Linked DNA regions of Homo sapiens: all the other regions are linked to region 2. The links are contacts of gene promoters, found by promoter capture Hi-C in blood cells and fetal thymus (Javierre and others, 2016). All regions are on one chromosome and are shown on one strand. Each heading gives the region's core, a stretch centred on a gene start or on the middle of the fragment in contact. The rest is flanking DNA. Distances are from core to core; before and after follow the strand shown.

Region 1 (2,813 bases), core at 198-2,697, 480 kb before region 2:
TAAACAGAGGGGGTAGTTTGTTAGTTGACATCTCTTGTTGCATGTGGATAAATGTGTGTGGTATAGTAGAAACTCAGTTCCAAGAAATCAACATACATGTTACCTTCTTAAAATAAGTAGATTCTTCTGGCTCATTTTATAAAATTTATGGGATTTTAATGGTTCCCTGTTGAGAAAGAGCTTAAAGGTCAGATGATCATCTTCTAAAAATTTAGATAAAGTGTTCTTTTCAATTAAGTGATTTCATGGTATTATCATAAAACATGAAAGTAGTTAAAAATTTAGATGGTACCTGCTATCTTCGAGATACTGTTCTGAGGGCATGTGCTCACTCATTCATTAAAAAATGCTTTTTAAATATTAGATGCCAGACATTGTTCTAGGCCCAAGGGTTACATCAAATTCTTACCTTCATAAAGTGGTATTCTAAATGGCATAAATAGCATTAATAAGCTACAGAATACTACATGTTAAGAGAAAAATAGAACCAGGAAACGGGATGGAGCATTCAAAAGGAGGATTTGCAATTTTAAATAGGGAAGGTTTGTTGAGATTATTATTTTTGAGTGAAGATGTGAAGGAGTGAGAGCAAACTATGGGCCCCTCTAGAGTAGAAGCATGGCATGAGTGGGAACAGCAAGTACAAAGGTCCTGAAGCAAGATGTGTCTTTTGTCTTAGATGAACTGTAAGGAGACCTGTGTGACTGAAGAAAAGTATTACAGGGAAAATTAGCTCAGGGAATTAAGCTCAGAGGGAGTGAGAGATTCGATTTTGTAGGCCTTCCTAGACCTTGGTTGAGAATTTACTTTTTCCTCCGAGCAAGAATGGGCATCCATTGAAGGATTTTGGTGGAGGCATAACATGACTTGGCTTACATCATTATTTGCACAGAATTTATCATAGATAGCAAGGTAGATAGGAGGCTGCTGCAATAATCCAGGAAAGAGATGATGGCAGTTTTTACCCAGTTGGTGGCAGTGGAGATGGTGAGAAGTGATCAGAGCCTGCATTTATTTTGAAGGCAGAGAGAGCAGAATTTGCTGACAAGTTGGATGTGGGGTGTGAAAGAAAAATAGGGACTAGGATGGGCCTGGATTTGAACCTGAGCAATGAAAGTGAGGTGGGAAGGGTGAAGTTTCAGAGTAGAGTGGCAGAGATTATCACCAGCTTACAGAACTATCCGTTTAATCATCTTAAAACTCTTTGACGTTATAATCTGCATCTTGAAGATGAAACTGACATAGAAATTAAGAAACTGGCTAGCATTCAGAAAAAGTGCTGAAGGCAAGATATGAATACAGGTGCCTGACTCAAGATTTGTCTGTGCTTGGTTTCTCATATAACATGTTATAACATGGTCTCAAATATGATTTAACAATGGAGAAGAAGACGCAGACTTCAGTAACACAAACACTGAGTTGTAGACATCAATCAGAAGAAACACAAGATAACTAGGAAAAAAAAGACTGAAATCCCAATTCTGAATATAGACAATGATTCCTTTCTCTTATTAGTCCTTTCTCTTATTAGGAAGAAAACATTTTTACTAAAGATATTGTTCTCTGGTTAGTTATTGAATTTTAAATACTATTTTTTTCTAATCTAGAATTGATTCTGTCTTATTTATTTGAATTGAGTATGGAGGCACTCTTTCGCCCCATTTAAAATGGTTTCAGGCCAGGTGCAGTGGCTCATACCTATAATCCCAGCACTTTCAGAGGCCGAGGCAGGAAGATTGCTTGAGTTTAGGAGTTTAAGACCAGCCTGGGCAGTGTGGCAAAACCCTGTCTATACAAAAAAAAAAAAAAAAAAAAAAATCACACAAAAAAAAACAAAATTAGCTGGGTGTGGTGGCAAGTACCTGTAGTCGCAACTACTTGGGAGGCTGAGATGGGAGGATTGTGTGAGCTTGGGAGGTGGAGGTTGCAGTGAGCTGAGATTGGGCCACTATACTCCAGCCTGGGCAACAGAGTCAGACCCTGTTTCAAAAATAAATAAATAAATAAATAAATAAATAAAAATGATTTCACTTTTGTATCATTCTGGCTATCAACCTTTCTAATAACAAAAAAAATTTAATTTTGTATTATATCCTTAGCCATATTTCCTTTTCATAAAGAGAATGTGAAAAATATAGCAAAGTATAAAAAATATAATCAGGAGGGAATGTTAATAAGATGGCAGAATAGGGCTTTCTAGCTCTAATCCCCCATAGAAGCATCAGTTTGATCTATTCATGCACAAAAATACTTCATAAGAGATAAAGAAACCAGAGGAGAGATTACAGCACCTGGGCTTAGCAGAAAAATAAGAAAATAGCATTTAAGAGTGCAGGAAGAACAGTTTTACATTACCTATGTCACCCCTCTCCCAACCAGAGATAGAACAGAATGGAGAGAGAGACCCTCTGCATGGGGAAGGATAGTAAAGTGAGTACTGGACATTGCCTCAGATCCCAATACTGGGCTTGCCCAATTAAAAACCAGCACAGTGCAGATCTTCATGGCCACAAACTTCAGACCCTCTTTGATGCCAGGCCAGATTACACAATCCCAGATTCCAGGCTTGTCCCATGAGCCAAGCCAACCCCAGTGGCTCCAGGCTCTGGACAGACTAAAATACTGAGCCAGCTCCAGGGGTCCTGAGTTTCTGGCCCACTCCAGGACCAGGCCTACCTCAAGACCCAGGCTCCAGGCCTTTTCAGTGCCAGGCCTGCCCCTGCAGCCCCAGGATGCAAGCATACTCCAGTTTCTAAGACAGCCCAGAATCAGGTCTCCATCAATACTCCTGGCCTCAGGAATGAGGTCAGCAC
Region 2 (2,954 bases), core at 87-2,586:
GCCAGCATGCCCTCATCGTGAGCGAGCAACCCCTTTCCGACAGTTAACATTACAATGTATCTTTTTAATTTTTTTTCTCAAGGACAGAAGAAAAAAATATTTAACAGAAATCAGTCTACTATTCTACCACTTGCTGAAACTAACAGTTCCCTTTACATAAATATACAATTTCTCCAACCAAATATCATATTTTATATTTACTCTCACTTCATGTTAATTTTTATAAAGGTTAAAAAAACAAATACTTTGTGATGATTTGCCACCCCAGCGGCACAAAATTTTCTGGTGCAAAATCGATTTGATCTTATTAATTAATATTGTCATTATTATTTATTTTTCACCAACTTGCTTAAGAGGTACATACTTTCTTTCTTAAGGTAGTGTTTTGACAGAGAGAACCTTAATGCTGAACTTTAGAAAAGAGAAACCAAAAATGTCATAAAATTTGCCAGGGCTAGACACACAAACGGGGTGCCCCCACACATTCATAGGTTTGGGCAAGCCCCCAAACCTTGGCTTACCCAGGAAGCCAAACCCAGACAGCCGTCTTGCAATTGCAAACACTGCCCCCCTGGAGCAAAAGGTAAATACACAAATGCTCCCCTAAGGAACTTTAAGTTAGCTGCAGTGCAAGAAAGGAAAAAGGTCCGTGCTATTAGAAACTGAAAGCAATCACTTACTTTTTGCAGCCACTGAGTATAATTTTCCATCACATGTTCCAGATGTTGAAGTTTCTGGGAAGAGAAATCCGGTTCCACGTGTGGAGCATCTCTCTGCAGAGCGTTTGTGTTGTACTGGTCTGTCGTACTCTCACGACAGTTGCCATCGTGTTCTGGAAGAATGAAAGTGTAGGCACATTGCCCATGTTGAATCCGGTTATATCTTCTCCCACTGTTTTCTGGACTTCGGCGCTGATTGCTGCACCCTATGTGAGTCAGAATGGCAGCGAGGAAAGCAAAGGAAAGGAAAACTGTCATTGTACTGCCAGCACACTCCTTCCGTGCCTCTCGCAAAACTTGCTCCTTTCTTCTGACCTCTAAAACTAGTTCTTTATTTCAGGTAAAACTGCTTGTTTGTTTGACTCTTTCCCCCTCAAAGAAAGCGTTTGAAGAAGAATCATAGAAAACTAGCCATTTGTTAGCTTTGTTCTAAAATTTTAAAATTTTTTATTTCACTGCAATGATGTTTTTCTTCGTTAAAACTTGAGATATTTATTGCATAGTAGCTGAGATTTATTGTTTCCTCTCTGTGTGACCGTTCAGCATGGAGCCTGCCTGAGTCAGCTGCGTGTACATATTCTAGACCCTTTCCTCTACCCTATCTGCTGCAGATCTGCTATTTTCTCCCAGACCTCAGTGAGTTTTATTAAGGTTGCACATCCAAGCCAAGCTGGAAGCAGGCAGCCTTTCACAAGATGACTTGACAGGAATGCATGAGTGTGCCCCTATACTAAGGATTGCTGATGGCTTAGGGCGGCGGGATCGTCTTACAAATTGGCTAGATGCGCATGACCTCGATCATGTATGGCCCTCCCGCCCCTTTCCACAGACAATTGCCTTGAGCCTTTAGCAGATTCATGGCAAATCAATAAATAGAGCAGTCCACCTTAATACACTTTTGGTGTGCATGCTGACCTACTAAAATATAGCAAACTAGCAGTATGTTTTTAAAGTTACTATTTAGTCGAGGGACCCTAAGAAGAAAATTGGCATAATGTCCAATGGAATTATTTTTGATAGAGAATGATAAACCCATATCATTATTAAATGTCTTTAAAAAACATGTATTCTTGACTCTGAGGAAAAATATGTTAAAAAACAGTTTTTACAGATGGTATTCTTTCATTGTATTCACTTAGACTTTTAGGAGTTGAAGAAAATAATCAGAGAGGATCAAATTAGCAAGAAAATTAGCATCATTTGTTGCTCAAAGCAATATGTTGCACAAAGCAATATAGTATGTGCATATTAAAGAGGGTTATCTAAGTACCTTTTGGTATAGGGTTCTTAAATGAAACTGGTGTCCTGATCAGAATGCAACCCTTCATGTTCTGTGTATATAAATTGAGCAACTTCCCTACAAAAACAATGTGGCTACAATTTAAAGCAGTGGCTTGAGAATTATTAATTCCTGTGGTATATCCTAATCCTGTATTTTACAAGGATCTCTTTGGTGGCTATGGCTGTCTTTAACACTGGTGTGGAAGTTCCACATAAAAACCTCCTGTGGCTGCACAGACATACTATGTGAGAACAAGCATATATCAGGTGTGCTAACAGCCAGCAATGGGCTGTACAGGAGACATCTCTGTGCTTCTGTGAAGGAAGAAAGAAAAATTATCAGAAGATGATTTCCCACAGGCAGCGTATAAACATTTGAACAAAGGGACCCATAAACATAAACAGGCAATAATTGTAGAATTTAGGGAACGGCTTTGAGATCTTTACTAGATGCAGAAAACCTGAATTATGAGTTGGGATTTTCATTAGGAACTGGGAGGGCTTTTAGACAACTGCAGTCATGGTGTGAAAACAGAAGCCACAGCTGTCATCTCCCATGTCTTGGAAGGAGAACAGGGCAGTGGGTGAAGGTCCGTAGTGGTTAGAGATGGGCATTTAGGGAGAAGTTAGAGGAGAGGTCAAAACAAATTCCAGAACAAATGCGATTTACTTGGGGAAAGAAACCTTGCCGAGATTCATCAGTCCTTTCCACACCAAATAACAAATTTCTGATTGGACAGATATGGAAGCAAGTTATGCCAAACACAGCAATAAAATATTTGAACCACTTTTGCAGCCTCTTGAACTTTTGCGTGTCTCCTCATTGAGTCATGTATCACTCCTGTGCAACAATAATAATGGCATGCATTAAGACCTTACTGTTTTCCAGGCGAAGCACTCCTTACACACTATCTCACTTAATCATTCCAACAAACCTAAGATCACGGATATCAT
Region 3 (2,965 bases), core at 220-2,719, 400 kb before region 2:
CATTCAGCGTTATAATGATGTATAGCAGCAGCCCCTAACAGTTTTGGCACCAGGGACTGGTTTTGTGGAAGACGGTTTCTTCATGGACTTGGGGGGTGGGGTGGGGGTAGGGGCTGGGAGTGGGGGAATGGTTTTGGGATGAAAATGTTCCACCTCAGATCACCAGGTATTAGATTCTCATAAGGAGCGCGCAGCCTAGAACCCTTGCATGCACAGATCATAATGAGGTTCGCACTCCTATGAGAATCTAATACCTCCGCTGATCTGACAGGATGCAGAGCACAGGTGGTAATGCTTGCTCCCTACCACTCATCTTCTGCTGTGTGGCTCAGTTCCTAACAGGCCACAGAATGGTACAGGTCCATAGCCTGAGGGTTGGGGACCCCTAATGTACGGTGTTATGGGCAAATTAGTGGCCATGAAAGCCAAGATATTAATAATAATCTATTCTCAGTGCAGAAGTATAGTGAAGTTTAATATAGCATAAGTATCAACCAATCATACCTGATGCTGGCTCAATTTTAAAAGATACCAGTTATAGACAACTGGAATAGATATACCATTGTGTGTATATAGATACACAGTGACATAAGAGCATCAGTCCTGCCTATGTGATTCCAACTTCAGCTAATCTATTGTAGGGAAGTTTCAGCAAGTTGGGGATTTAGAGGCAGAAAGGGAGAAATCTCTTTCCTCCCAATCATAAAGAGTCACAGCCAATACTCCTATAAAACAAAACACAGGTTAATGAGAAAAGCATAACAAATGTATTATGTGCACAGGAGTCATGCAAAATATTGAAAACTGAAAGAAAGGGCCAGATGGTTGATGCTTAAATACCCTTTTCACTGGAGGAGAAGCAAGCGTGTATGGGGTGCACGGAGGAGGTTGCTGTAAAACCATGGGCCTGAAGACTATAAAATGGTTTGTAAATGATTCTCTTTGGGAATTGAATGGGGTCTAAGAACAGACAGTAGTTTGGGACAAAGTTCATCTACATTCTAGGTGTGATATTTAATTTTCAGTCTCTTCCTTTGTAAGAGGAATTTTAATCTTCTCTGATTAATGACATTTCAGGGAAGAGATCAAAAATAATTTTGTTTGTGTTTCTAGGTAAATAAGGGGACATCAGAGAAGAGCCTCATCCTGTGTTTTGGGAGAGATGGAGGATTGAGACAAGGGTGGGTAGGCAGGAGGTCAGAGAGACCTTGAGTTTGCTTCTTTAGTTGAGCATGTTAAAGCACTGTATTTCAGGGTGTTTGATATTTCAGGGTATCAGTTTCTGAGCCTCAATAGGAGTTTCTGTGAGTGGAAAAGCTTCTGCTTTCCATTTACTATCATAGGTTTCAAAGCAGAAATCTGCCTACTGATTTTGGATCCCAGGTATAAAAAAAGAAAAGAAGAAAAATAAGAAAAGAAAAAAGAGGAAAAGATGGAGGAAGAAAGGGGAAAAACAATAAAACTAACCAATTAAACAAACAAACTCATTTCTTCACGTAATATCAGTTTGTTGACTTAATGTTTTAATGATTAGCTAGCTTAAAATTGGAGTCCCTTGTGTTTAAGGATTCATTAAAGCAGTCAAAAATAGTAAAATAAAATAAAACTATTAAAATGTGTACAAAGCTTCCTTCTTAATATGGGTAGGGCAATATTAAGTTCCCAAAGGCAGAGAAGAAAGAATTCCTACAAGGGAACAAAACAACACTTTTTCTTTTAAGATGCTGTAAATATTATAAATAGTTTTAAAAAAAGTTGGAAATAAACTTAAACAAATTGGTTTACAAAATCCTGAAAAGCCTGTGAAAATGACAAAAAGAATTAAGACATCCAAGAATATGTAGAGACACATGGAAAAGCATTGTATTTTAGATTTAGTAATTAGATACATTTCTCATTAAATGGTTTCTATGTGAAAGGGCAAACTAGACTGAAGTAATTCAACCCAGACCTGCTTGATCCCAAAAGACTGGCACAGGGCAAACTAGACTGAAGTAATTCAACCCAGACCTGCTTGATCCCAAAAGACTGGCACAGGGCAAACTAGACTGAAGTAATTCAACCCAGACCTGCTTGATCCCAAAAGACTGGCACATCACATCACAGAAGATTTTCTGGATTTGTCAGACCTTCTCCAAACCTGGATTATTGGATGCTTGAATTGTGAATGTGGACTTAATGATCTTTCATGAGCATGCATTACCATATCTGGGGCCAACTTTTTGTAAATCTGTTGGTACTTGGGTCTTCTTAAAGTGCTCTTTTCTATTTCTGCTGGGGTTTCCCCATTTTTCTCCTACAAACACTATGGTGACTTGTGGGGGTCCCCTTTTGAAGGAATTCATAAATGAAACATAAAGGATGGAGAAATGGAACTTGGAATATCTGGAGTTTAGTTGAAACCTCAGAAACTTTGGTGCTGTTAGCCTAGGGAGCCTGATGTACCAAGAGGATAGATACAGATATTGATAAAAGAATCAAATGCTGGGTGTGGTGGCTCATGCCTATTAATTCCAGCACTTTGGGAGGCTGAAGCAGGATTACGTGAGCCCAGGAGTTTAAGACCAGCCTGGAGGTCGGGTGGGGTGGCTCACGTCTGTAATTCCAGCACTTTGGGAGGCTGAGGCGGGTGGATCACAAGGTCGGGAGATCAAGACCATCCTGGCTAACACATTGAAACCCCGTCTCTACTAAAAAATACAAAGAATTAGCCAGGCACGGTGGCACGTGCCTGTAGTCCCAGCTACTCGGGAGGCTGAGGCAGGAGAATGGCATGAATCTGGCAGGCGGAGCTTGCAGTGCAGTGAGCCAAGATCTTGCCCCTGCACTCCAGCCTGGGCGACAGAGCAAGACTCTGCCTCAAAAAAAAAAAAAAAAAAAAGACCAGCCTAAGCAACATAGGGAGACCCCATCTATAATAAAAATTTAAACAATTTTTCAGGTATGGTAGTGTGTGCCTGAGGTC
Region 4 (3,129 bases), core at 115-2,614, 460 kb before region 2:
GGAAGGCGGAGTTTGCAGTGAGCCGAGATAGCGCCACTGCACTCCAGCCTGGGCGACAGAGTGAGACTCCGTCTCAAAAAAAAAAAAAAAAAAAAAAAAGAAAAAAGAAAAACTAATACCAAACTGTTTCAAACTCTTCCAAAACATTGAAGAGGCAGGAAACTTCCAAACTTATGAGGCTGGTACTACCCTGATACCAAGGCCAAACAAGGACACTGCAAGAGAAGAAAATTACAGTCCAATATCACTGATGAACATGGATGTAAAAATCTTCAGCAGAGTGTTAGCAAACCAAATTCATTAGCATATTAAAAGAACTATTCAGAATGATCAAGTGGGATTTATTGCTGGGATGCAAAGATGGTTCAGTATATGTAAATAAATAAATACGATATATTACATTAACAGAATGAAGGATAAAGCCATACTATCATCTTAATAGATGCATGAAAGGCATTTAAAAAATTTTGCATCATTTTATAATAAAACTCTTAACTAATTAGGTATAGAAGAAATGTACGTTGGCACAATTCAAACCATTTACAACAAGCCCCATAGCTAGCATCATATTCAACAGTGAAAAGTTGAAAGCTCCAAGATCAGGAACAAGGCAAGGATGCTCATTCTTGCCACTTCCATTCGTCATAGTACTGGAAGTCCTAGCCAGAGCAATTAGGTCAGAGAACAGAATAAAAGGCATCCAAATAGGAAAGGAAGCACTTAAATTGTCTCTGTTTACACTTAACAATCTTGTATATAGAAAACTCTTCAGACTCCATAAAAAATGTTAAAACTAATAAATTCAATAAAGTTGCAGGATATAAGACCAACATACAAAACTCACTAGCATTTCTATACACTAGTAATGAACTACTAGAAAAAGAATTTCAGAAAACAATCCCATTTATAATAGCTACAAAATACTTAGGAATATATATAACCAACAGGTGAAAGACATATTGAAAACTATAAAACATTGATAAAAAATTTAAGAATGACACAAATAAATGGAAAGATATCCCATGTAAAGGGATTGAAATTATTAATGTTGTTAAATTGGTCATACTACCCAAAACAATATACAGATTTAATGCAACCCCTATGAAAATTCCAATGACGTTTTTCATAGGAATAGAAAAGACAAACCTAATATTTGTATGAAATCACAAAAGACCCCAGTGCAAAATCATTCCTCAGCAAGAACAAAGCCAGAAGCATCTTATTACTTCATTTCAAATCCATTATGAAGCTATAATAATCAAAATAATATGATAACGGCATAAGACAGACAATACACCAGTGGGATAGAATAGAAAACCCAGAAATAAATGAATGCATTTATGGCAAATTGACTTTTGACAAAGGTGCCAAGACCACACAATGGCAAGGACATTCTCTTCAAATGATACTGGGAAAACTTGATATTCACATGCAGGACTACCAATACTACTACTACCACTACTACTACTTCTGCTGCTAGACCATCTTCTTACATCACATTAAAAAAATTTTAACTCAAAATTGAGTAAAACTTAAATATAAGACCTAAAATTATAAAACTACTAGAAGAAGACATAAGGGAAAAGCTCCATGACTTTGAGCTGGGTAATACTTTTTTTGTATATAACTTTAAAATCACAAGCAACAAAAGCAAAATAGACAAATGGAATTATATCACACTAAAGAGCTTCTGCATTGCAAAGGATACAGAGTGAAGAGACAACCTTCACTTCAATGAGAAAATATATTTGCAAGTTATATATCTGATAAGGGATTAATATCTAAAATATATCAATAACTCAAATCAATAGTAAAATACCAACACAATTAAAATGTAGCAAAAAATCTGAATAGACATTTCTCAGAAGAAGACATGCAAATGGCCAAGATGTATATGAAAAAGAACGCTAACCTCACTTATTAGGGAAATGCATATTAATGTTGATAATATTAACATATTATCAAAAAGACAAAAGATAACAAGTGTTGTCAAGGGTGTGGAGAAAAGAGAACACTTATACACTGGTAGTGGAAATGTAAATTAGTACAGCAGTTGCAAAAACCTGTATGCAGTCCATGGGGTTCAACTGTGTCCCCACCCAAATCTCATTTTGACTTATAGTTCCCATAATGTCATGGGAGTGACCTGGTGGGAGGTAACTGAATCTTGGGGGCGGTTCCCCCCATGCTATTGTCGTGATAGTAAGTTCTAACAAGATCTGATAGTTTTATAAGGGATTTCCCCCTTAGCTCAATTCTCATTCTTCTTCTCTCTGCAATTATGTGAAGAATGATGTGTTTGCTTCTCCTTCTACCATGTTTTTAAGTTTCCTGAGGCCTCCCCAGCCATGCTCAACTATGAGTCAATTAAACTTCTTTCGTTTATAAATACCCAGTCTCAGATATGTCTTTATTAGCAGTGTGAGAATGGAGTAATACAGGTATGTACTCAAAAAATCAAAAATAGAACTGTCCTATGATCCAGTAGGAATCCTAGGATTCCACTAGTAGGTATATATTCAAGGGATGCATATTAAACAGGTACCTGCATTCACTCTCATGTTCACTGCAGCATTATTTACAATAGCCAAGATATGGAATCAACCCAAGTGTTCGTTAATGTATGAATGATATATAAAAATGTATTATATATATACAATGAATACTGTTTAGTCTTGTAAAAGAATTCTGTCATTAATGCAATCAAATTGTTAATTATCCTTGCTGAATTACATTGTGACACAGACAACAGAATAATGCATCTTGGGTCTTCCAAGTTTATTATCTCAAAGCAAATCATAGGGAGGGAGTAAAACCTCATGATCTGGAGTCAGGCAGACCTCTGTGTGACTTTTGGCTTTACTTATTGTTGTGTGACTGTTTTTATATCTCTAAGGTGGGAATAATAATATTTCTACCTGTCAGATAATGAAATTACCACATAAAGGCTCAACAAAGTAAGCCTCTAAAAATATCTTATTGTTACTAACAGTCACTAATGCTGTAGAGACCTGAAACCTCTAATCAAAGTGGCCAGATGGTGATATAGGACAGCTCTTTGAAAATTCATAAGAAAAATAAGTAATTGGATCTTCTCAGGTTTTCAAAATATTAAGGAAGAGAAGAATT
Region 5 (3,207 bases), core at 515-3,014, 380 kb before region 2:
ATCATGACAAATGGCTTTATAGAGGACAACGCCCATACCTTTATTGAAGTTGTGTAATCTAAAGGAATGAAATTAATGGCAGGAATTTCTAGCCATTAGAAATGCAGGATGGTTGCATAGTATTCCATGGTGCATATATACCACATCTTCTTTATCCAGTCAATCAGTGATGGACACTTAGGTTGGTTTCATCACTTTGCTGTTGTGAATAGTGCTGCAATAAACATACAAGTTCAGTTGTCTTTTATATAATGAAAAGAATGAAATCATGTCCTTTGTTCTTTGCAGTAACATAAATGGAGCTGGAGGACATTATCCTAAGTGACTAATGCAGAAACAGAAAATCAAATGCTGCATGTTCTCACTTATAAGTTAGAGCTAAACAAAGAGTACACATGGACATAAAAATGTAAATAATAGATAATGGGAATTCTAAAAGGAGGAAGATGAAGAGGTGAAAAATTGCCATTTGGGTATAATGTTCAATATTTGGGTGATGGATACACTAGAAGTTCAATCCCCACCATTACACAATACACCCATGTAACAAACCTGCATAGAGTATTTCTTGAATATAAAACAAAGTAAAAAATAAAAGTGTGGAATGGAAAGATAACAATGTGTCGTGATATTTGAGCTCACCTGGTCTTACAAAGTTTCACATATCATTCCATGTAACAGGTGGCTTACCTCGCCTAAAGGTGTGGTTAGACCAGAGATGGAGTCACTGCTTAGTGATTCTGCCATCAGTCTCTCTCAGCCTAGAGTATATTCACTTTGGTTTGTGAGGATGAGTGACTCTAGTGAATACATTTTTAAAACTCTCCTGAAACATAAAGTCTGTCTTGGTTTTGAATTTTGAAAAATATTTAAATGCCTGGAACTGTCTTCATACATCCTTCATCTTCAATCCCTTGCCAAGCTAACTTCTATTTATCTTTGGATCAACCATTGCTTCCTTTGGAATTCTTCTCTGATTTCCAGTCATGGAATCAAACTAAGTATCCATCAACCATGGATTGGATAAAGAAAATGTGGTATGTATGCACCATGAAATATTATGAAGCCATTCTGCATTTCTAATGGCCAGAAATCCCTCCATGCTGATGGAGCTATGTCAGCTCAACTTCAAGATTCCCCCTCTACAACAGTACAACAGTTATGAGTCCAAATGCCGTGAATTTTTTTTTTATTAATCACTGAGATCTCATCTCCTACTGGCCATAGAGCCATTCTAACCAGCTTCTGTTGGAAGCTTGGACATGTTTATTCAAGAACAAAGCGAAGGTTAAAGGATAACATAAAATTGTAAGGAGTTAGGGTTAGGCACAGGAACAAAACAAGAAAAACATTTCCAGCCACTAAGACATATATGTGTGTGTGTGTGTGTGTGTGCGTGCGTATGAGTATGGTGTGTTCAAGGTCCCCCAGCTACATGCTCTTTATTATAGCACTCTGGCATAGCGTGTGTAGTTATTAATTATCATCACATTTGTGTGATGATATATGTGGCTGTAAAAACAACTCATCCCACTATATTGTGAGTTCCATGTGTGGGATGGCTACATCCCCCAGTACACAGCCCAGTGCTGAGCACATAGCAGGTAATCAGTAATTATATATGAATAAATGAATCATTCCAATTTTCTGATTTACATTAAATTTTTCAGATTTACACTTGGTGATTGTTATACTTTAAGACTTTAGTTAGCCTCCATTTGGAGATTTGCTTATAATGAGCTATCAACCATATATTCTAAAAGGAGTTGTCAAGAAAAAAAAATCAAGACTGTTTCTAGAATGCCTGAAATTATGACTTTTTAAATATAATTTGATTAAGAGATCAAAAGAACAGAAGAACTATCTGAGTAATCTCCTTTTAAATTCCTCTCTCTGTAGAGTCACACATTCATGACCTTTGTTCCTGTTTCTGAATCTCTCAATCAGAAAGATGCCTGCTTGCTGCAGCCCTGGAGGGGGACAACACATGAGGAACAGGAGACAGAGTCTCAGGGTCAAACCACCTCATCCAGTGAATACTGTAATATTCTATGGCTCAGGTCTTGTAAAGATCTTCTTAGACATTTTTATTTGTTAACTGTTTAATGTTTAAATGCTTCTCAATGGAGAAGAATTACACACACACACACACACGCACACACTTCTTATTGGCTAAAAATGTCTCTAGTGTTTTGTTCCTGTGACTAATGCTAACTCTTAAAATTTTATGTTATCATTTAACCTTCAGTTTGTTCTTGAATAAACAACATGTCCAAGCTTCCAGCAGTAGCTGTTTAGAGCAGCTCTGTGACCACTAGGAGATGAGATCTCAGTGATAATAAAATATTCATGGCATTTGCACTCATAACTGTTGTACTGTTCTAGAGGGGAATCTTGAAGATGAGTTGACATAGCTCCATCAGCAAACATCCCACCGGATGTTTTCTTAAGCATTCTGAACAAAGTTCAACTGCCCTTTGGGAGAAAACACACATTTCTTCCTAATTTATAATTGTTGGAATGATACCAACCCCCCAAAATCTGAAGAGTTCATTAGGGGAAAATATGTTCAAATATAATAATGCTTTATTTGTCCTTTATTCTATAGAACCATATAGATCTTTTTAAACATCTCAGCAATCAACTATACTACCATGTCTTGAGGAAGGCAGGAAATACTAGTCTTATTTTATAGCTGTTTTAGAAAAAAACAGAAAAGCTTTACTCTTCTGAGATAAGAGCCTTCCTGGAAGAAGTTTAGCCTCTTGGAGAATGTGTTAATAATTTCAGAACACACTTAAGAAGCAATGCAATACATTGCTAATTTTAGCTCTGTACAAGAATATCAGAATTCAAAGTGACCTACATAGATTTTTACTTTTTCAAATACAGGTTGTCTTATGCAGTTTGTTTTAAAACATGAAGGACCTAGTGACTGAGAAAACCTGGAATCATTATATAACTCAGTGGGGAAAAAATTAAATTTAATTTAATAATTTTCTAACTTAATTATGTTTGCATATTTATTCTACATTTCTTGAGGCCACTACAGCCTGTTGTGCATTGCAGACCACAAACAAAATAATAATTTCTGGCTGCAACAAATTTCTAGCAATAACACTACAACCTGAATGGTCTAAAATATTTTTTCCTCCAGTTTAAGCAGTGTTTGGTTTTTCTCGTGCATTCAGGAGTGACTAAGGTATT
Region 6 (3,249 bases), core at 110-2,609, 360 kb before region 2:
ATAAAGCAAAGTTCAACAAAATGAGAAATGCTTGTATTCTTATAAAAGTCCAAATTTGTTTATCCCTAAATATCCATCTGTTAGTTTTTGTAAGAAAAGGGATGAGTAAATAGCTAATAATCACATGACTCTGTAAAGTATAGGAAGCATGCTTAGAAATCCTATTAGAATTATGTATTAATATAACTTTCACAATTTTTTCCTGAATCATACAAAATCCTATGCATATTATTCTATTGATGATATAAATGCTTTTAAAAATTTATCGAGATATATTAACTCAAGCAAGCCATGCATATAAATGAATAGTGGTCTATTTCTGAATAATTCCTTGAAAATAAAGTAGTATGGTATGTTTATTCTTTGTTCCAAATGATTGATACACTTTCTCTATAGAAAGTGAGATTATTAACATTTATATATATTCAGTTATTTAAATTCTGCTAAGGTGATGCTTAAGTATAAAGATATTTTTTAACATGATTTAAGCCTTCCCAATGCCATATACTGTAAATAATCAGATATTATTAAACTAACATTTATACTACAATTTTGGAAGGGTATTTTCCCACTAGGTAAATTACCATAAATCTAGTAGTTTGGAAACATGGTGCCTTATAAAAAGAGAGCAACCACAATGTTTTGCTTGGTGTCACATTTTACATTGAACACATTATCTGAGTGTTTTAATCTGCCACATTATTTTTAAAAACAGACAAACTAGAAGGGGATAATGAAAAATGTCTATTGGTATCTGGCTAAATTCACATTAAAGTAGAACTCAAGAATTCCAATTTTCTTTCCCTTAATTTGTGTTAAAATGTGGGTTTTCTCTTAAATATACAGGCCATGGGATAGACATTGCTTTTAGCTAGTCTTCCTTGGCCCCATCAAATGGTCAAATAGAACATTTGCATCTTTACCAGTTTACCTCCCCTACCTTTGGGATTCCCCATGGCAGGTTCTACACAGTTTTCTTCACAACAACTGTGAACTTCTGGCATCCCAGCCTAGACCTTGTGCTTGAATCTCTGCAGGATAACATGTAACTAATTCCTCCTACTCTCATTAAACCAGCTTCTCTACACACAAGACAAGCAAATGGATTTATCTATCTATGATCCAAGCCTCAGAGCTTTCAAACAAGCTGTTTTGGTGCCAAATCAAAGAAAACTCAGCAGAGATAAAATAGCAAACTTCCCTTGCATAATTTCTGCCCCTCCCCAGTTGCCAAATGCACTGAATCATGCTACTATTACCCAAAGCACAAAGCCTGAGGGTAAATATTAACAAGTGCTGAATTTTTCCTCTTCAATATTTCCATTGTGCATTTCTTCCTCTCCACCTTTATCATTTAAAGTGTGATTATCTCCCATCTTGATTATTATATTTTACTTTCAAAAAAATCAAATTCCAGCATCAAACAATTATTACTAATTATTGGTCTTTTCCCTTCCTTTCAGAAAACATGCCATCCTTTACTTAAGGATCTTGCAATGTTTGCAGTTACACTTTTAAATGAGCTCCACCTTTCTAAAAGTAGGCAAGATATAGCGAAGTGTGATTATACGAAGATAGGTTTGTGAAAGAAGTTATTACATCAAATTGGTCAAGAATCTTCCAACTGCAAGTGACAGATAAAAATAATACTTTCCTAAATTAAAAAAAAATCATGCATGGCTAGATCTAGATCCAGGGGCTCAAATAATATCAGCTGAACTTCTATCCATCTTTCAGTTTGGCTTCTGTGTTGGCTCAAGTCTCAGAAAGGCTTTTTTTTTTCCCTGGTGGTTGCCAAGAGTTTTAACTTACAATCTATCTTTTTAGAATTCTACCCAATGATTTAAACAAATGTCATAAAACTGTGTCTCATTGTCTTTTACTGGGATACAGGCTTATTCCTGAGCAGGGACAGGAGACCTGGGGGCTCTAGTTGGCCATATCTTGGTGACGTGCCATCCCTTGGATCTAAGGGTAGAGCCAACTCCCTAAAACCACATGGACTAGAGTGGAGAAAGGGGGACTTGAAAAAATTAGCGGACATTTTGAGAATCCCAAACCAACAAATGTGAAGTAAATATGACATGAGGAAAAATATATGGGTATGTCAATAAGGAGTATATGTGTAATATAAACAAATAATCATGAAGCTCAGTACATCATGATATAATATTGGAAATGCTTTACATTAGGCAGTAATAATTAATTATTCCTTATTTTTTTCAAATACATAATATTTAGGGCTACCTAGAGAACTATCAAAGAGTAGATGAAATAATTTTGCATCAGGCTCTCTTTATAAGTGTTTGATTTTTTTTTCCAGGAATGAGTGACTTTATTTTCTTTAGAAATGTATTCAAAAATATCCATGATTCCTCAAAGGCCCAAGCTCATTCACAGTAAGTCTCACAATGTCCAAACTCTTCACTATTATACATTTTCTGCTGTCCACTTATAAATATTTTTCAAAATAGTCACAAATAGGATACTCAGGTGCTTAATACATGCACTAATAACAAGGAACTTAATGAAACATGGGTTACAAAGATAATGAGTACAGTCTATAATTTATACCCCTTTCAGTTGTATTTTGCTGCCTCTAAGCTAACAGCGATTAAAGTTCACAGTTTCATGCAGCAGCTGCTTTTGCTGAAGTGGGGTATAATCAGCATAGTTATCATTAGGGTGCACTGAGGGACACAGCTATTCTTGTTGAAGAGCAGCACTCTAGACACAGAAACAATCTGCATTTTGTAGACAGAGAAATGGATTATGAGTGGTGATTGGTGACCAAGAAGTATCCAGATTAATATAGGAAGAAGAAGACTAATTTGTAAGTCCAGAGACTTGACTTCTGGTCATAATTTATTAATTTGCTATGTGACATTAGCTAAGCATTTCACCTATCTGGGCTTCAGTTTTCTCATTTTTAAAATGTGTATATACATGTGTGTGTGCCTTCCATTTTCTAAATTCACTTTGATGTGCTGAGATTCTATAATCTACCTGGAGGAGAGAAAAAAGGCACATAGATTAGACAAGCACTTTTGAGAACCTGGACCATTTGCATCAAGGCTAGTAGCTGTGCTCATAATAGAAGTACTATAGAAAGATACCATGCTTGGGAGAAAAATGGCATCGGCAACAACAGAAACCAGAATCTCCAAGATGACACATGCCCCAACATAAGGGGAGAGCTGAACAGAGTTGGAGAAGGCTGGGCAATTTTATGGCCACCCAAGAAATCCC
Region 7 (2,959 bases), core at 59-2,558, 330 kb before region 2:
AGAGGTCCAAAGGACTCAGGACTAAATCCTCATTCAGCACTAAAGAAATAAGTGAAACCTAGTCTAATTTTCAGTGTAACCTTCGTGAAACAGTGAGACCATAAACTTTCAGGAGTTTCTAGCAATGATGAGAAATAGTGCCAGAAGTTTCTAGAAATGACAGAAGCTACTCTAGGTGCAGTCAGTAGAGCCCTTGATGTAAGTAATCAATTGTCTCAAGACAGCTATGGCAGATTGGCAATACCTCCCTTTGGTGCCTGTCAGTTCCTGGCCAGCCCCAGCAGGAATGGAGATGAGAATGCAGGAGAGTTGCTTCTTTAGGTTGCTTAGACAGAGAATCGATGAAAGAGGAGGAAAAATGGAAGAGGTCAAGAGTCCTAGTCCATGAAGCACATGGGAGATAGTCTGTAGGAGATTTCTGGAACTTTTCTGGAAGCATGTGAGAGAGTCTAAGTTTCTTAAGCATCAGTGGCAGCTTACAGAATGGTGAGGAAGACAACCTGGAACATTTCAAGATTTCTAAGCTTTTATTTCCCCTTTCCCTCTGTTAGGACCTGGGAAAATTCCCATTTTGGGTCAAAATGGAAATGGCTAGAACCATGTAATTACTACTGATTTAATTTCTTATTTTATATTGCTGATTTAGTCTCGTTATTTAGGAATTTAAGTATTGTTGTTTTTTCCATTTGTAAGCATCACAGCATTCATAGATCATTTGATTCTGAAACCCAGCTGGTTTCTGGGTACTGATGACTGCTTTTTAGAGTTATTAACACAAGTGATGCTAAAATAGAACTTTTGTACCTCTCTCTGCCTAGAAACCCCCTTTTTCCTAGTTTGTACATGTTTAGCTTCTACTTATTCTATTTCACCAATTCTCAAATCCAACCCCCCATACTTAAATTAGGCCCCTAATATACTTTCTCATTTCATTCTGTATTTTTCTTACTTAGCACTTAACTTGATTTGTAATTATATATTTGTGGGTTTTTTTTTTTTTGAAACTACAGTTCATTTTTCAGAGAGCTAAAGAAGAGAGGGATAAAGAGATGATTGTCACAGATGGCAAGCGGGGGCCAGGAACCTGAGAACACACACAAAGGGAATGCTGAACACAAACACCTCTGGCCATGCACACAGCACCTGCTTCTTGGGTTTTACACTGGATGGCCCCAAGTCATCCTCAGCCTTCCTCCTCTGCCCCACCAAGAGCTCTTATTAATGATCCTTACTTCCCTACTCAACTTCCAATTTATTCTTCTTCACTTTCTATTGTGCCTTCTCTGGCATCCTCTGTCTGAGCCCCAGCCCTAGAAAATTAGATTGTAAAGACATTTCCCTCCATTTTCCAGCTGGATGGGAAGGGACAGATTTTGAAGGAGGTAGTGGAAGGAATAAGTCACTGAAGAGCTAAAGTATAGCAAACGTGCTGTGTACATTAAAAAAATAATATGGTCATGAGGATCTAAAGTAGTAGAAAAATGAGAGTCAGTGGATGTAAAAACATGCCTTATGGTATGCAATGGCTTGGGAATTGAACCCTGGCCACTCTCACTCTAAGGTGCATGATACTCCTGTAACACCCAGCTGCCTGGTGCTCACAGCTCAGCATCATGATTGACCTAAATTCAAATCCATTCCTGACATTGCAGTCATGAACTAGGCTCCTTAAGTTGGTTCTTTTATGACGAAGTTCCTATTTCAATGATTTTCAGCATTCCATCATTTTTTATTTGCCCCAACATACCTTCACAACAAGATGCTTTTCTATCAGTAAGAGTGCATGTTATGGTAGAGTGGAGGCTGGATGGAGGTAGAGTTACATACTTTGCATATGGACTGCCTTTACTCTGATCAGTTTCTGATATGTGCTGCCAAGGGGGAGTTCTCCCTTCTCATTTTTGAGAATCCTTTTCAGATCAGAAGGAGGGTCACTTGTGCTGCAATCCTTGCTTTGTGAGCCCCTCCAATGTCTCAGTTTCTTGAGACCAGGACCCACAGATGTGTCAGAGATTTATTCCTGAACATACCTCCCCTGGTACTGTAGTAGGACGAATTGCAGACAAAACTCGTCAAACGGGTTAAAGAAGGAAGAAGCTTTATTCGGCCAGGAGCTTCGGCAGACTTGTTTCAAAAGCTAAGCTCCCCGAGTGAGCAATTCCTGTCCCTTTTAAGGGCTTACAACTCTAAGGGGGTCCGCATGAGAGGGTCGTGATCGATTGAGAAAGCAGGGGGTACGTGACTGAGAGCTGCATGCACTGGTAATTAGAACAGAACAGAACAGGACAGGGATTTTCACAATGCTTTTCCATACAATGTCTGGAATCTACAGACAACACAAGCAGTTAGGTCAGGGGTTGATTTTTAACTACCAGGCCCAGGGTGCACACTGGGCTATCTGCCTGTGGATTTCATTTCTGCCTTTTAGTTTTTACTTCTTTCTTTAGAGGCAGAAACTGGGCATGAGGGGTGGTCTCCTCCCTTAGTATATGCTACAGCTGCACCTCCCAGGTCCCGACTTCCCAGGTATCTTCCTTAACTTCTCTGTGTTGCTGGCTGCCCATTCTTTTCCAGCACCATTCCCATGTCCTGCCACACCTCTCCTCTTCTAACCCCAGCACTCTCCAGCACCACACTTTCTTCACTGACTGGAATGTCTGCCAGCTGTTTACCATGAGTCTTTGGCACATCTGTGTAGAACTCCTACTCTTTATTCATACTCAAATAAGTCCCCAGAGGACATCCTTGTGGTCTGTCTGGTGTCTGGGTCTCCATCATTCTAACTTGACTGCCATGTCTGGGTCTTCCCACCACATAGATCCACACAATTATCTTTTGTTCTTTATTGTTAACTTGAACTACTTTTAATAGCTTTGTCATGGATGAATGAACTTTTAAAAAGGGAAATGTGTCTTCCTTATATACATTTTTATACGAATTCTTGTTTTATAGTCCCTGA

The links. The method cuts DNA at HindIII sites, captures the fragments that hold promoters and counts their contacts. A CHiCAGO score of 5 or more calls a contact.
Region 1: a contact is called between a fragment that was not itself captured here and the fragment with the promoter of ANGPT1 in region 2, in 1 of 17 cell types (erythroblasts). The highest score is 5.0, in erythroblasts.
Region 3: a fragment that was not itself captured here is called in contact with the fragment with the promoter of ANGPT1 in region 2 in 2 of 17 cell types (erythroblasts and megakaryocytes); the score reaches 7.0 in erythroblasts.
Region 4: a contact is called between a fragment that was not itself captured here and the fragment with the promoter of ANGPT1 in region 2, in 1 of 17 cell types (erythroblasts). The highest score is 6.0, in erythroblasts.
Region 5: a contact is called between a fragment that was not itself captured here and the fragment with the promoter of ANGPT1 in region 2, in 2 of 17 cell types (megakaryocytes and erythroblasts). The highest score is 7.6, in megakaryocytes.
Region 6: a fragment that was not itself captured here is called in contact with the fragment with the promoter of ANGPT1 in region 2 in 2 of 17 cell types (erythroblasts and megakaryocytes); the score reaches 7.6 in erythroblasts.
Region 7: a fragment that was not itself captured here is called in contact with the fragment with the promoter of ANGPT1 in region 2 in 1 of 17 cell types (erythroblasts); the score reaches 5.4 in erythroblasts.

Annotation. Positions count from the first base shown.
Region 1 is chr8:107,012,073-107,014,885 of GRCh38, forward strand. No RefSeq gene overlaps it. Among named protein-coding and RNA genes, the nearest start is that of ABRA, 240 kb to the left of the region's middle. The HindIII fragment of the contact is 5,672 bases long and covers 1-2,813 here.
Region 2 is chr8:107,496,582-107,499,535 of GRCh38, forward strand. It overlaps ANGPT1 (angiopoietin 1), which reads right to left and starts at 1,337. Exons shown (of 9, transcript NM_001146.5): 1 at 681-1,337. The coding sequence starts at 977. The HindIII fragment of the contact is 4,855 bases long and covers 1-2,954 here.
Region 3 is chr8:107,097,647-107,100,611 of GRCh38, forward strand. No RefSeq gene overlaps it. Among named protein-coding and RNA genes, the nearest start is that of ABRA, 330 kb to the left of the region's middle. The HindIII fragment of the contact is 309 bases long and covers 1,316-1,624 here.
Region 4 is chr8:107,033,080-107,036,208 of GRCh38, forward strand. No RefSeq gene overlaps it. Among named protein-coding and RNA genes, the nearest start is that of ABRA, 260 kb to the left of the region's middle. The HindIII fragment of the contact is 7,125 bases long and covers 1-3,129 here.
Region 5 is chr8:107,114,424-107,117,630 of GRCh38, forward strand. No RefSeq gene overlaps it. Among named protein-coding and RNA genes, the nearest start is that of ABRA, 350 kb to the left of the region's middle. The HindIII fragment of the contact is 1,022 bases long and covers 1,254-2,275 here.
Region 6 is chr8:107,139,777-107,143,025 of GRCh38, forward strand. No RefSeq gene overlaps it. Among named protein-coding and RNA genes, the nearest start is that of ANGPT1, 360 kb to the right of the region's middle. The HindIII fragment of the contact is 4,031 bases long and covers 1-3,249 here.
Region 7 is chr8:107,167,964-107,170,922 of GRCh38, forward strand. No RefSeq gene overlaps it. Among named protein-coding and RNA genes, the nearest start is that of ANGPT1, 330 kb to the right of the region's middle. The HindIII fragment of the contact is 1,573 bases long and covers 523-2,095 here.